4 separate regions of the Homo sapiens genome follow, and all the other regions are linked to region 1. The links are contacts of gene promoters, found by promoter capture Hi-C in blood cells and fetal thymus (Javierre and others, 2016). All regions are on one chromosome and are shown on one strand. The core of a region is centred on a gene start or on the middle of the fragment in contact, and the rest is flanking DNA. Distances in the headings are between cores, read along the strand shown.

Region 1 (3,356 bases), core at 572-3,071:
CGTCTCGATCTCCTGACCTCGTGATCCGCCCGCCTCGGCCTCCCAGAGTGCTGGGATTACAGGCGTGAGCCACCGCGCCTGGCCTCAAGTATTCTTTTATAGCCACACCAACGGACTGTGACATTTCCAAAACCACCAAATTCAGATGTTTCACCTTGTCTATACAGGTGAGCCCTACATCCACCTGGAATCGCACTAGCCTGTCAAAAAGAAAGCCATTTAATAAGCGTATTAAAAATAAGAGTCAAACGTGGGTTCCACCTAACATAAACTGACGTTTAAAACATAAATTCTGTAATTATTTGGAGATTTCAAAATGCTATTGGATTCCTGGATTTTGTTTAGTTTGTTAAACAAAAACACGTAAAATTTCCTGACACTTGTAAGACTGGTTTATCCTTCAGGTACTTAGCTTTCGTTTTGTTTTTCCTTAACATAGAAGGAATCTGGATGAGAACAATTGGTAGAGCCTTAATGAACTTGAAAGAGAACTGAAGGCATTGGCATTTTTCCAGACTGAGTGATTGCTTTCACAGGAAACGCTGCCTCCTGAAGGAAGGGCGTGCCCCGCTCCTGGCTGCCTGCCTCGTGGTGGTCAATTCGCTGCCCTGTACCTGTTGATGCGCAAGAAAGTGGCTGGAAGGAAACTGCTGCCGGTGTGCTCAGTGGACTCGAAACGGAAGACAACGAGCAGAGGAGAGAAAGTTACTTTTTCCTGCCGGGCTGCGTGTTTAACCAATTTGTCTAAGAAAAGAAGGATGGAGGGCCGGGCGCGGTGGCTCACGCCTGTAATCCCAGCACTTTGGGAGGCCGAGGCGGGCGGATTTGGCTAACACAGTGAAACCCCGTGACTACTAAAAATACAAAAAATTAGCCGGGCGTGGTGGCAGGAGCCTGTACTCCCAGCTACTCGGGAGGCTGAGGCAGGAGAATCGCTTGAACCAGGAAGGCGGAGCTTGCAGTGAGCCGAGATCGCGCCACTACACTCCAGCCTGGGCGACAGAGAGAGACTCCGTTTCAAAAAAAAAAAAAAAAAAAAAAAGAAGAGAAGAAAAGAAGGACGGGGGTGGGGAGGGAATCAGGGAGTGGGGAGAATGGCGCTCCCCTTCACGCAGCTGGTGTGGCTGGGAGTTGGCTTGGAAGTTTACACACTTGAGCTCTATCGATTCCGAAACTTCCCGATACATCGTGAGGTGTGGGCAGGAGGGAGACGCGCCAGGCAGCAGCCAACGGGGTGGAGTCCCCGGGCCCAGCCTCCTGCGGGAGGGGGCTCTGCTGCCTCCAGGCCCGGGTCGCTCCTGCCTGGCCCCGGGGACCCCGTTCTTCCTCCGACTCCGACGACGGGCTCCTCCTGCCCGGACATGCCCCGCCACAAGTGACCCGGGCCAGGCACCCCCGCCGCGTCCCCCTCTCTCTCTGCCCCCTCCCGGTGCCAGGCGCGCTTTTCCCCAGGCAGGACCGCGGTGGGGACTCACCTGCAGCAGGACCCCGACGACGACAAACTTGAAGGTCTTGTGGACCCGGAGCCGAGGGCTGGCTTCCCGCGCCGGCCTGGGTCCTGGGGCGCGCCCTGCCCGGGCCCGGGCACTGGGTCCGTGCTGTCCCATGGAGGTAGGGAGCGCTCCTCGGCCCCCGCCTCGTGGTTCAATCCTCCCCGCGGAAGAGCCCCACACTTTGCTGGGTGTGGCCGCGGCTGCCTCTGTCCCACTCGCTGCGCTCCCGGGATTCGGAGTCACTGCCAGGAACGCACCTAGATGTACTCTAGCTGGTGGTGGCGCCATCCTGCCAGGTCAATCCAAGAAGCAGCGTGCTTGGCTATGACAAGACAGAACTTCGCATTCGGAGTTCAGGGCACCCCTGACCCCGCCCCCTTTTCGGGGCACCTGCGGCTCCTGTTGGCTAACCCTGAACTTCCTTCCTCTGTGACCGCCCTTGCCGCTCTCAGCTTCTGTTCCTCAACCACGGCCGCCGCGTGGATGCCGCTGCATTCGGAGTCGTTTTGCCACTTGGTCCCAGCGCCAGGCTTCTCGGTCGGGAGTTGACCTCAGCCTTTCTGTGACCCAGTTCCTGGCACCCAGCAGGCGCTCGGTGGACGGATGGGTGGCGGAATGAAGGACACAGAGGCCACTGCGGGGTCTGGCCTCTAAGAGGCTTTTACGGCCTCCTCCGTCACTACCGGGCGAGTGATTCAGCCTGCCTTTTTTTTTTTTTTTTTTTTTTGAGATGGAGTCAAGCTCTGTCGCCCAGGCTGGAGTGCAGTGGCACGATCTCGGCTCACTGCAACCTCCGCCTCCCAGGTTCAAGCGATTTTCCTGCCTCAGCCTCCTGAGTAACTGGGATTACAGGTGCCCGCCACCACGTCCGGCTAATTTTTTTTCTATTTTTAGTAGAGACGGGGGTTTCACTGTTTTGGCCAGGCTGGTCTCGAGCTCCTGATCTCGTGATCCGCCCGCTTCGGCCTTACAAAGTGCTGGGATTACAAGCGTGAGCCACCGTGCCCGGCTCATCCTGCTTTTGGTTTCAGGTCTCCATGCCAGTGAAATGTCACCTCAACTCCACCGTCCCTGGTGTCAGGCAAGCCCGAGGGACCCAATTCTGCCTTTCTTCTGGATTTTCCTAACCTGTTAAGAGTCTTGAAAGTCCTTAAACCACGGGAGACTATCTGGCACATGACACGGGATGAGACTTGGTGGGGGTCCCACGGGGGACAGGTCCTTCCAGCGGTTCCTCTGCACCCAGCGCTGCACGGGCATGGGGCGTGGGTAATCAGCCTCCCGAAAGCCACGCGAGTCACGGTCCTGCCTGCGAAGAACTCCCAGGGCGACCTTGGGGCTGAGGAGTGGGTAAGAGAAAGGGGGCGCTGATTGATGTTCATTTTTCTCCATATTTTAATGGTGTTCCGGTACCATTTGTTGAAAAGACTCTTTTCGACCGGGCGCGGTGGCTCACGCCTGTAATCCCAGCACTTTGGGAGGCCGAGGCGGGCGGATCACCTGAGGTCAGGAGTTCGAGACCAGCCTGACCGACATGGAGAAACGCAGCCTCTACTAAAAATACAAAATTAGCGGGGCGTGGTGGCGGATGCCTGTAATCCCAGCCACTCGGGAGACTGAGGCAGGAGAATCGCTTGAACCCGGGAGGCAGAGGCTGCGGGGAGCCGAGATGGAGCCATTGCGCTCCAGCCTGGGCCACAAGAGGGAAACTCCGTCTCAAAAAAAAAAAAAAAAAAGACTTTTTTTCCTTATCCAATAGCCTTATCACTTTTGTTGAAATTAAATTGACCATATATATGTATGTGTCCATTTCCGGACTCTATTCTGTTCCGTTTATTTATTTGGCTATTCTCATGCTAATTA
Region 2 (3,356 bases), core at 1-2,500, 640 kb before region 1:
GTGAGCGCGCCCACCTGCGCCTCTCCGCGCGGCCCGCCCTCCCCGGCGCCGGGCTCCTCTCCGCGCCCCTGTCGGCGCGGAACCCTGGCCTCGTCCGCGGCCCAGCTCCCTGGAGCCTCGCATCAGCGGGGGCGCCCCCGCGAGCTGCGCTCTCCCCGGCCGGAGCGCTCCTCCTCCAGCCCCCAGCCCGCAGGGTACTTTGCCCTCGGAGCGAAGGAGGCTCCAGAACTGGTAGAGCCGGGCCATCGGGCTGGGCACCTCCCCGCGGCGCCCGCAGCGCGGAGTCCACTGACCGGCTCAAAGGTCTGGGAATCTCGGGGCGGCCGCGAGCCGGCCTCGGGGACTGGGGTGGGGGCGGTGCTGGGAACAGAGGCTAGGCCTGGGCCCAAGGGGAAGGCAGCCGGGGATGGAGCGGACAGACCGCTGGTGCTCTTGATAGATTCTCGCAGCACTTGCGTCCCCAGGGCAGCCCCAGGATGGGTGCTGGGCAGGGTGGTGCCCAGCCTGGCACCGCGGCTTCCTGCCTGGATTGGCTCCTGGCTCCAGAGCTAGAGGCTCAGGAAATCCCACAGGGGTCTGTCTGCAAGGGCACTTCCTTGCCCAGCGGAGGGGCTGTGGATGGGAGGCCTGTCACCCCGGCTGTCTGTCGGGCAGCATCAGGAATCTGGGGGTGGGTGTGTCCAGCTTGACAGATGAACCCTGGCCTCCTTGCCCTGGCAGCCGGCCCCTGGGGGAGGTGGGGAGCCCGGTCTTGCCCGTGTGATCCACTTTGCCAAGAACGAGGTGGGCAGCTAGGAGGCCCATGTGAAGACTCGGCCTCACCCCACCAGTCCTTCACCTGGCCAGTGACTTACACAGTCTGTACTGGTGCCAGCCTGTTCCTTGACCCGTCACTCCTGCTTCCTGAGCCCTGCTCTCCCTAGGCCACTCACCAGCCCTCCCCCAGAGTGGAGAGGAAGTACCGTGTGCTGTGGGTTTTGGGGACAGGAAGCAAGCGCTAGTGGGACTGAGCCCTGATGGTGGAGGAGGGGAGACTGAGGGGGTGCTGGCATCCCCTCCACTTGCCAGCCCCTGCCCCCCATGCTCCAGCAAGCCCCCTGCCTGGCAGCCTGGGCAGCCCCCTCCTGGGAGTCGCTCCCTGGGCTGAAGACTAAGGAAGGGAGAACCCAGAAGCATGGCTTCCCAGGGTGGGGGGAAGTGAAACCGGGCTGAGGGAGGGAGTTAGCCACTTCCTCTACCCACCCCAAAGCCCCTGAGTAGCTGCTCCGGGAGCTGTGGTGCCCTCTCCTTCTCCCTTTGGCTCCTCTCCTGCTGCCTTACAGTGCCCCCAGAGCCGGCTAGGGGCATGGACTTCACCTCCTGGTCCTCTCTTCCTCAGGTATGGCGTTGACGGTGGATGTGGCCGGGCCAGCGCCCTGGGGCTTCCGTATCACAGGGGGCAGGGATTTCCACACGCCCATCATGGTGACTAAGGTAAGGATGGTGGCTCAAAGAGATGAGAAGGTCCTGCCAGAAGCGAGGTCGGCCCTGTTCACCCCACTCTGCACAGATGGCTTGCTTTTTCTGTTCTGGAGCTAGGGATCTGCTGCTGCCTGGCGTGCTGGCTGTAAGGGAGCCGTGGCCCTTTGCCACGGGGATGTGGTGGCCACTTCAGGAACAGACCTTGGGAGTGAAAGGGAGCTGGGACCAGGACAGGGCCGGCTCTTGCCTCCCCAGTTGCTATCCCCACACTTGCAGGCAGCCATTTGGGGTGATTACTAGAACAAGAGCCCCGGAGTTCTTGGCAGTCTCCTCTTGACCTGGGCCCAGGCTGGGAACATTCACAGGAGGGCTGTGCAGGCAGCCACCTGCAAGGTGCGATTTGCACGGGCAAGGCTCTCTATCCAAAAGTATTTCCAAGCACAGTTCCTGAAATTCTGCCACTGCACATTCTTTGGGAGGCCCATTAGAATGCCAGTGTGGGGTGGGGGCTGCCACCTGCGCTCCTGGAGGGGATGGCTGATCAGCTGGGTGTCATGAGCAGGCAGAGGGACATGCAGGAGGGTGCAGGCCGGCCTGGGTCAAGCCAGCCTCTGTGTTTCTTGGGTAGCAGAGTGGGAAGTCCCTTCTCCAGCTGGGCCACGGTCTGAGCATGCCAGCTCCTCATCCCTACAGGTGGCCGAGCGGGGCAAAGCCAAGGACGCTGACCTCCGGCCTGGAGACATAATCGTGGCCATCAACGGGGAAAGCGCGGAGGGCATGCTGCATGCCGAGGCCCAGAGCAAGATCCGCCAGAGCCCCTCGCCCCTGCGGCTGCAGCTGGACCGGTAGGGCCTCCCGCTCTGCAGAGCCTGTGGCATTCCCCCTCCTCCACCACCCCACGTATTGAGCAGCCCTTGCTCCTGCCCATGGGCTAGAGCTCAGCCCTAAAGCGGCCTTCTTGGGCCCTCTCCACACCTTGGTGAGAAGGTCCTGGGCTCTGCTTCCTGCAGCAGGGTGGGCTGAGGGGTGTTCCCATGCCTGGTTGGGTAAAGGTGGGCGCCAGGCTGGGCGTGCAGTCACAGGCTGGGCAGGGCGAGCTGGCACCAGCCACCTTGAAGCCCGGGTTTGACTGGTTCCCAAGAGTGTGCAGGGCACAGGGCGTGGGCATGAAGTGGGTTGAAGAGGGGAACCTTCTGGGAAAGGTATGCCCGAGGCTGCATCCCCAGGACTCCTGCTTCCAACAGGGCATGGCCTTTGTTTAGTTCCCAGCTGGAAGTGAGGACTTGGGGGGCTCATTCCTCATAGAGGCTGTCTGTTCCTCCCCATCACTGAAGGCAGATGCCCGATCCTGGGTTACTCCTAGGGTTTTGAGCCTATAAGCCAAGGTGGGGCCAGGGTGGGGCCTGGAGGCCAAGCTATAGGGGGAACAGGTGGCTCCCTGGGGTGGGGCATTGCAGTGAGTCACAGATCGGGAATGCCAGGAGATCCCCGAGCCAGGAGAGCCCTCTGCACGGGCCTAGAACCTGAGTCAGACACCTCTTGCATCCTGGCCACCCCCACATTGTCCTGCTCTCTTCAGCCCTACCAAGCCCCTCCTTCTCCAACTGCCCTGCCCTGTGGTGTGGCAGAAGCCGGCTCCCTTCATGTCATTCAGGTCCCTGGGTGTTTGCAGGAGCGGGACCCCAAGAAGGAGGGTAGAGAGCACCTCATGGCATCTGGGAATGGGGCAGAAAGCTACAGGAGGCTGAGGGTCTGGCAGCGGAAGGGCAGGAGCCTCGGACTGTCTCTTCCTCTGGGGTTCTCTGGAGGGACCAGGGCTCGGGGGAGGTAGGCCTGGGCTGTAAGTCAGGCCTCTGGTTCTGCACCAGGCAAGCCCAGACTCCAGTCTCTTAATT
Region 3 (3,356 bases), core at 602-3,101, 620 kb before region 1:
CCCTAGCTCAGCAACCCCTCACCCTCAATGCTGACATTTAGGCCACCTTCCAGGTTCGTGGGGAGAGCAAGGTGGAGCACAAAGGATTTCACAGTGGGTGAAGGCCATCATGCTTCGGGGCTTGTATTGAATCGTTCTCCAGGAGGAAGAAATACCAAGTCATTTAACAGCCCCGGGCTGCGCCCACACCCAGCTACCCACCAGCAGATAAACCACGTTCTCTCAACTCTAGGGCCATTGTTAGTTTTATTTCCCCCTTCTAGCCTAATGTCTTCTTTTCATTCCACAGGATCGAGTCCAGGGACCTCCCTGAAAGGCCTCAGTGCCGCCCCCACCGGAAGACCTTTATGCCATCATTAGTGGTTAAGAAGCAACGAGCAAAAAACCTTTCTGTAGGCTGAGACCTCTCGGTGCACCTGGTGACCCTGGGTGGAGGGGACTTGCTGTGAAGTCTTCCTCGCCCTCTGCCCTCTTGCTGCTTCTCCACATTGCCAGGAAAAGCTGCTGACGCCTGCCCTCCTCTCTTGAGTCGAGGGCTGAATCTTTCTCCTCTAAGCAGTCTGGTCAGGAACCTTGGTTTCTTGAGAGGCCCCCAAGATGCCGCAGCTCCAGGGCTCTTCCTCCTCACCAGAAATCCCTGGGCTTCCACAATGTGAACTCACTCATTGTCAGGTGTCCGTGGAGTGTTTTTGGCATGGTGACCTGTCTGGGCCCAGCATGTTGCAGATGTGTATTTATGCGCAATGGTATGCATATCTCTGTGTGACTGTCAGTGTTGCAAGCTGGCTGGATCCAACCATCTCTTCTGAAATAATGCATCCAAAGGGTTGATATTCTGGGGGAGGTCACTGCAGAAGGATGGAACTGACCTTTATTCCCCAGTGGGCAGTTACTGAGCTTTCCTCCTCAGAGCCATGCTGGCAGCCCTGGGACAGAGAACGGTGTGGCTTTGGCTGCCTCTGCATGGAATCTTGCCCCGGACTCCTGAAGACTGCACAAGGAATGAGGAAGATCAGGGACAACCTGGGAACTGAATAACTTTCAAAGCCAGTGCTCAGCTTCTCTGCTCCGTACTAGCGTTTACAGGTCTTAATTCAAACCAGATGCCTGTACTAGTTTTTAGACCCCAAGTCAACCTTTCTGAGCCACAGCTTCCCGCTGGGAATAATGATGCCTGCCCTATCTACCTCACAGACTTGTTATGAGGATAAAGTGAGATTAAACTGCCTCAAAGTGCTTTGTAAACCTCAGGTGAATAGGAAAGGGGAAAGTAAGGCTGGAGTGATGATGGGGAGGTCGGAGGATAAGGGGGGGCTGGGATTGCTAATGGGGACTAAAATGGCCAGTCTCCTGGCAAGATTTTGAGCAGGTCATTTCATTGAGGCCTCTTAGATTTCATATTTGAGAATTAGGGCACTGATTCCTGACTGGCTAGGCATGGTGGTCACTGGCTTGAGTCAGACCAGGAATGTCTCTTAGAAATGGTCACTGATAGGCATCCTTCTCCTCCAGTCAGGAGGGGCTGGTTTCCTTATCTGTTGCAGTCTCGACTGCCAGAGGGAGGCGAGCGTGGTAGGCAGTCGGGGGTCCCTTGTGTTTGGGGGGCCCAGCTCCCGCTTCCTTTGAGCCCGGAACCAATGATCCGAAGCCTTCTTTCCTGATGGGATTCTTTAGCGAGGACACTACCGAGGCGCGACTTCCTGACGCGCATCCGATCCGGGAAGGCGCACTTCCGCTCCCCAGTTGCCGCGGGATGGCAAGCCGGCGTGGGGGAAGGGAGAGGTCGGCGGAGACGAGGGAGGGACCATATCCGGGAGAGCGGCAGCTTCCGACCAGTGGTCGCGCTTCCGGAGAGGCGCTTCCGGTGGCGGCGGCAGCAGCGGCTGTGGTGGTTCCGGGTGTCTTTGTCCCCCCGGTGTCGCTGCCCTGGCCCGCAGGTGGGTTGGGGGGCCCCCTGCCGCCCCTCTGCCCCTTCGCCCCTCCGCCCCTCCGCTGGCCGAGGGGCTGCGAGGGCCGGGCGGCGAAGATGCGTGGGGCGCGGAAGGGGCCGAGCCCCTCTTTGGACTGCAAGTCCCGTCTCCCTGGCAACGGCCTCGGCCTTGGGGGCGGGCGGGAGGAGGAGAAACCGCGCGCCTCAGTCCTCCCTTGGTGGCCTCGCCGCGGCTCTGCTGGGAGACCCGGCGCTGGCGGCTGCTGAGGCCGGAGCGGAGGGCCCGGGAGCGTGGGAGCAGGAGGGTGGCGCGCAGCCGGTTTCGCGTTTGGTCGGCCAGGGAGCTGCCTTCCCACCAGCCGGTCGAGGAAACAACGGGTCGGGCTTCCGGGGAGAGGGCCCACACAGTCTCCTCGCCGGCACCGGCCTCCTCCATTTTTCCGGGCCTTGCGTGGAGGGTTTTGGCGGATGTTTTTGAACGAAGGAATGTCATCGGGGCTCTCTCGAGCCCCTCACCCCGCCAGCTACTCTGGGGGTGGCGTGGCATAGTGAGAGGAGCGCTAAGTTGTTGGGAGGCCTGGGTGTGAGTAGCAGTTTTGTCACTACCTGGTTATGTGGCCCCGGGCAAGTCTCTTGATCTCTCTGAGCATCAGTTTCCTTGTCTGTAAAACAGCATGACAGTATCATGCACCACTAGGTTATTGTCAGGGCAAACTGGAACAATGTAATTTCTTGTTTCATTTCTTTCTTCTCTATATTCTCTCCATCCATTGCTTTCATTCATTCTTATTACCCACCTCCCTGTTTTCCGAAATATCCTTACTTAAGATTCTCCACTTTTCCGGGTATAGATGGAAATTTCCCTTATAAGCTGTTAATTTCTTTCTTTTTGGATTGAAGCCTTTTCCCCACGACTCTGAAAGAGGACAGCGTTCCCAATGTCCCAGTTTAAGCGCCAGCGGATCAACCCGCTTCCAGGGGGACGCAACTTCTCAGGTGATCACTGTTCTCCCTACCTGGCCTCATCCTGGGAAGTATGTGCTCTGGAGTTAGTTTGGGGTTTCCCTGGTGGAGAGCAATTTGCTGCTGATGTTCCTCTGGAAAGCAGGAGATGCCCACAGTGATTGCCAGTGAAGCTCTGTGGAGGAGCTGGCTGGAGCTGTAGCCTTTGGATTTACCACATCCTTTGGTTGACTCGTGCTTAAGGTGGTAGGGGCGGTTCCTGGAGATTGCTTCTCTTTCCCCATAGGCACAGCTTCAACATCTCTTCTGGGCCCTCCTCCTGGTTTGCTCACTCCTCCTGTGGCCACAGAACTGTCCCAGAATGCCAGGCACCTTCAGGTAGGTTCGGCATCCCTTGTAGTAAGTTTCAGCCCTTGGGACTGAATGCATGGAGGCCTGGTGCTCTTTTTCTCTTACATAATAG
Region 4 (3,356 bases), core at 381-2,880, 560 kb before region 1:
TAAGAACACTCCAAAGATTCAAGACGCAGCAGCCAAAAGGATATCTATATTGCAAGACTGGGGGGCCCAGAATGACACTGAAAGGACGTAATTCCTCTGGGAAAGGGAACTGAAGAATTGCCGCTTTGCCCACCACTAACTAGGTTATAACAAGACAGGGAAGGTAGCTTTTTAAGGCTCCAGCCCCTTATTGGCCTCCTGGAGCAAATGGTGGAGGGAAAAGCAGAAGCTCCTGCCGGGGCTTATTAGGACATTGCTTCAGGCTTTCCTCCCGTGCTTGCGGTGATTGTCTGACATTTGTCCATCAATCTTGGTCTAAGAAACAGGTGGGGGAGGGGACAGATGGTTCGCATTTTACTTTAGAGAAGTATCCCTGACACTGACTGATATCAGCTGCTTGCGTTCTCCACTGATGGCCAAAATTAAGCTTCAAAAGCCTTCCTGAAGGACATTCTGTTATCTTAATTCATTCATAACTGGTTATCATGCGCTTTGCATAAACAAACACACTAGCCTCTGAGGACAGAGTGGCAAATATGTTCCCTATGTCCATGGGCTGATTAATCTTGTACATCTCTGGGGCTCAATTTATTCACACACTATAGTTGAATCCCCTGAGGTCCAGGGTTGTGGCTATATAGGTCCTTGGGCCTGACGGTAAGGTAAGGTGCTGCATATGAGTATTCTCTAACCTCTAAGAAAGCCCCAGGAAGGCAGGCAAGTCACAATTCTCTCCTGTGAACATAAATAATCGAGAGCAACAAATGGGGATTGCCTTTTGGGCAAACTGAGTCTTACAAAATAAATACACCATTATGAAGTGTCTACTATGACCCAAGTATCACATCATACTGCAGCAACTGGAATTGTGACTCTATTACTCTAAGACTCCCTGGCTTCTTTTCTCATGGCATGATAGTTCCCATAAGTTTAAACTTAACCATGCCTATTTAGAGGGCAGGCAGTGAGTAATAGCTCTGGAATGATTAAAACCAGTCCAATCCCACAGTGGAAGGGTGTGTGCGGAGTGTAATTCTGGCCCCTTTAAAAAGAGAAGCAAGTTTTCCTTGTCTTTTGAAGCCTGCTAAGTCGTGCAAAGAGGATAGTTACCCAGAAGGGAGTGGGTTTTGATTAGTGAACTGGGTCCAGGCTGCCACAGCGAGGGCCACAGCTCTGGAGGGACTGGCGCGGGGCAGAGATGCCCACAGGAGAGAAAGACGACACTGACTCCACCTCAATGGGTGTTTAAAAAAGGAGGGAACAAGGAAGTCCCTCACTTCAAGGAGCTAGGAGGACGCGAGTCCGGCAAAACGGGTCAGACGCGGAGTCCCAGGCTAAGAGGATCATCCGCCACTCTCCCCGGGAGTCCTGCTGAGAGACTGCGACTCCGGAAAGCACCGAGGGAACGACCCTAGGGCAGGGGCTGTCGGGCCTTGCTCTGGGGCGGAGGGGTCGCGCGGGACCGGAGGGAGCCGGGACGCGGCACTGACACAGGGCCAGGGGCCTCGCGGGTCCGCGGGTCCAGCAGCTCCCGCCGCCTGGGCCTCACTCACCAGCTCATGGTCCCGAACCTGCGTCTGCCGCCGGGGTCCTCAGCCACAACTCGTTTCTCTAGGGTCACTTCCGGATTCAACCAGTCTCCAGGAAGTGACGTAAGCCCGCCTCTCTGCCCGGAAGAGGCGGTTGGGAGGCGGAGCCCGGCGCGTTAACCCTTCTGCTGCTGCGTGCTCGCCGCGGAGTTTCCCTTGCCGGCGACTCTCTGGCTCTGGCCAAGCGCTTAGACACACAGGCTGCAACGGGGGATGAGGGGAACCTCTGGGGGCGTTTTCTGCCTTCAACACTGACTCCTAAAGATCTCTTCACCTGACCATGCAGGGCCCTTAGCCGGGCTGTCCCCTCTGTCAAGTGGTTTCTAATCCAGAGACAGTGGCAGCAATTGTCTGTGGGAGAAGAAGCCATTTGGGATGGAGAAAGTGGAAAACTTACATTCTCTGAATGCTCTTTCCTATCTTTTACAGTTTGTACACCACACATGCATTACCTGTTACAAACAAACGGACGTTTCCCTTCCAAGATGGCACAGGGCTCTGAATATCAATAGATAGGTGCTTTTCAGGTTGGAATGTTTCCTAGAGTTATTCAACACAATAAGACGCAGAGTATGAGTTGTTCCCTGCCTTTCAGCCCTTCCCTTTGGTCTCCTCTACAGGACTCAAATGATGTAAATTGCCCCATTCGTTCTATTCCTTCATTTAACTAATACTAGTTGCACTAATATTAGTGTCAGGTACCGAGCCAACCTTAGGATACAGCTATCTCAGAGAAGTATCTGCCCTGCTCTTGTTCCTTCCCAGAGCTACTTTCCTGGAGGGAGAGACAAGCAGGCAATTATAATCATGCTATAGGATAGGATAGAATGAGGTGTGGTGGCAGCCTAGAAGGGGACCCTGAAGTAGCACATGGGGTTTTGGGGAAGGCTTCCAGGAGGAGCCAGTGTGTAAGCCAAGCCCTGAAGGCAGAATCGGGGCTAGCCAGGTGAATCTGAGATGAGGGGTGACGAGGCTCCAGGCAGAGGGAACTTACCATGGCTAAGACACAGACAGGACCAAGCAAGCAGCTGACTTGCCTCGGGTCTCCCAAAGTCAGAATTCAGGGCCTTAGTGGCTCACAAGTTGCCTGGGATTCTGGGCCGACTTGGTTTCCTCACCGCTAAGTACCTCCCTGCCTTGGAAGAGAGACAAGAAGGCAGTGAGGCCCGTGCAGGTGCTGCTGGGCCCCCAGTGACCTTCTCTCTAGGAATTCTCCTTCCTCAGATGGACCGGGATTGTTTCAGGGACTGCTTAGGGGGTTGCTAATCAATGACCTAGCGGGAAAAATATGACCAATGACCTAGAGCAGAAGTAGTGTATGATTTGTTTTGACCTCCTAGGGTGGAGTAGAGGGCTTGAGCAGGAGAGGTAGGAGGGTGGGCCACAGGATGCAGTCTCTCATTTGTGTTTTCTGTTTCCATTCTTGAGAGTCCATAGTTTGACTCAATTGACGTTTCCAATGGAGGTTGGATCCCCAAGCACATCATGCAGATCAGCTTCATTACCATGTTGTTCCTCAGGAAACAGGCCAAAATGAGCACAAGAGCAGCCTTGAAGAGTAAAGAGGAAGAGCAGAAGTCACCAAAGGGTAGCCTGGGCAGAGAGTGTGGGTAAAGGGAAAGAGAGAGTCCTTGCTGCTTTGCAGAGAGTGTGACGGATGGAAGGGCTGTTGTGGGTTTAGGAGCCTCCTGGCAGTTAGCACCTGTGAATAGTTTTCCCACCTGCTTCCTCCCTTCCCCATGTTCTGCCTCCCTCAGTTATGCCCCA

What was found. The method cuts DNA at HindIII sites, captures the fragments that hold promoters and counts their contacts. A CHiCAGO score of 5 or more calls a contact.
Region 2: the fragment with the promoter of PDLIM2 here is called in contact with the fragment with the promoter of TNFRSF10A in region 1 in 1 of 17 cell types (naive CD4 T cells); the score reaches 5.8 in naive CD4 T cells.
Region 3: a contact is called between the fragment with the promoter of CCAR2 here and the fragment with the promoter of TNFRSF10A in region 1, in 2 of 17 cell types (non-activated CD4 T cells and total CD8 T cells). The highest score is 5.5, in non-activated CD4 T cells.
Region 4: the fragment with the promoter of BIN3 here is called in contact with the fragment with the promoter of TNFRSF10A in region 1 in 6 of 17 cell types (fetal thymus, naive CD8 T cells, total B cells and 3 more); the score reaches 9.7 in fetal thymus.

What each region holds. Positions count from the first base shown.
Region 1 is chr8:23,223,281-23,226,636 of GRCh38, forward strand. It overlaps TNFRSF10A (TNF receptor superfamily member 10a), which reads right to left and starts at 1,822. Exons shown (of 10, transcript NM_003844.4): 1 at 1,476-1,822. The coding sequence starts at 1,781. It overlaps TNFRSF10A-DT (TNFRSF10A divergent transcript), which reads left to right and starts at 1,941. Exons shown (of 3, transcript NR_033928.1): 1 at 1,941-2,843. RefSeq lists promoters at 1,314-2,350, 1,779-3,356, 1,779-2,432, a cis regulatory region at 1,314-1,393, silencers at 1,415-1,664, 1,832-2,023 and an enhancer at 2,075-2,214. The HindIII fragment of the contact is 5,488 bases long and covers 1-3,356 here.
Region 2 is chr8:22,579,225-22,582,580 of GRCh38, forward strand. It overlaps PDLIM2 (PDZ and LIM domain 2), which reads left to right and starts at 1,251. Exons shown (of 9, transcript NM_001368120.1): 1 at 1,251-1,473; 2 at 2,155-2,306. The coding sequence starts at 1,381. RefSeq lists silencers at 38-107, 208-297, 308-467, 1,198-1,287, 2,852-3,146 and an enhancer at 2,485-3,177. The HindIII fragment of the contact is 20,077 bases long and covers 1-3,356 here.
Region 3 is chr8:22,602,906-22,606,261 of GRCh38, forward strand. CCAR2 (cell cycle and apoptosis regulator 2) reads left to right here and starts at 1,852. Exons shown (of 21, transcript NM_001393997.1): 1 at 1,852-1,937; 2 at 2,831-2,926; 3 at 3,180-3,271. The coding sequence starts at 2,869. It overlaps C8orf58 (chromosome 8 open reading frame 58), which reads left to right. Exons shown (of 7, transcript NM_001013842.3): 7 at 290-1,237. The coding sequence ends at 401. It overlaps LOC107986876 (a long non-coding RNA gene), which reads right to left and starts at 2,095. Exons shown (of 1, transcript NR_160769.1): 1 at 228-2,095. RefSeq lists enhancers at 1,570-1,679, 1,686-2,186 and silencers at 1,850-2,149, 2,210-2,269. The HindIII fragment of the contact is 4,257 bases long and covers 1-3,356 here.
Region 4 is chr8:22,667,491-22,670,846 of GRCh38, forward strand. BIN3 (bridging integrator 3) reads right to left here and starts at 1,631. Exons shown (of 9, transcript NM_018688.6): 1 at 1,554-1,631. The coding sequence starts at 1,561. RefSeq lists a silencer at 1,331-1,490 and enhancers at 1,354-1,983, 1,741-1,800. The HindIII fragment of the contact is 6,679 bases long and covers 426-3,356 here.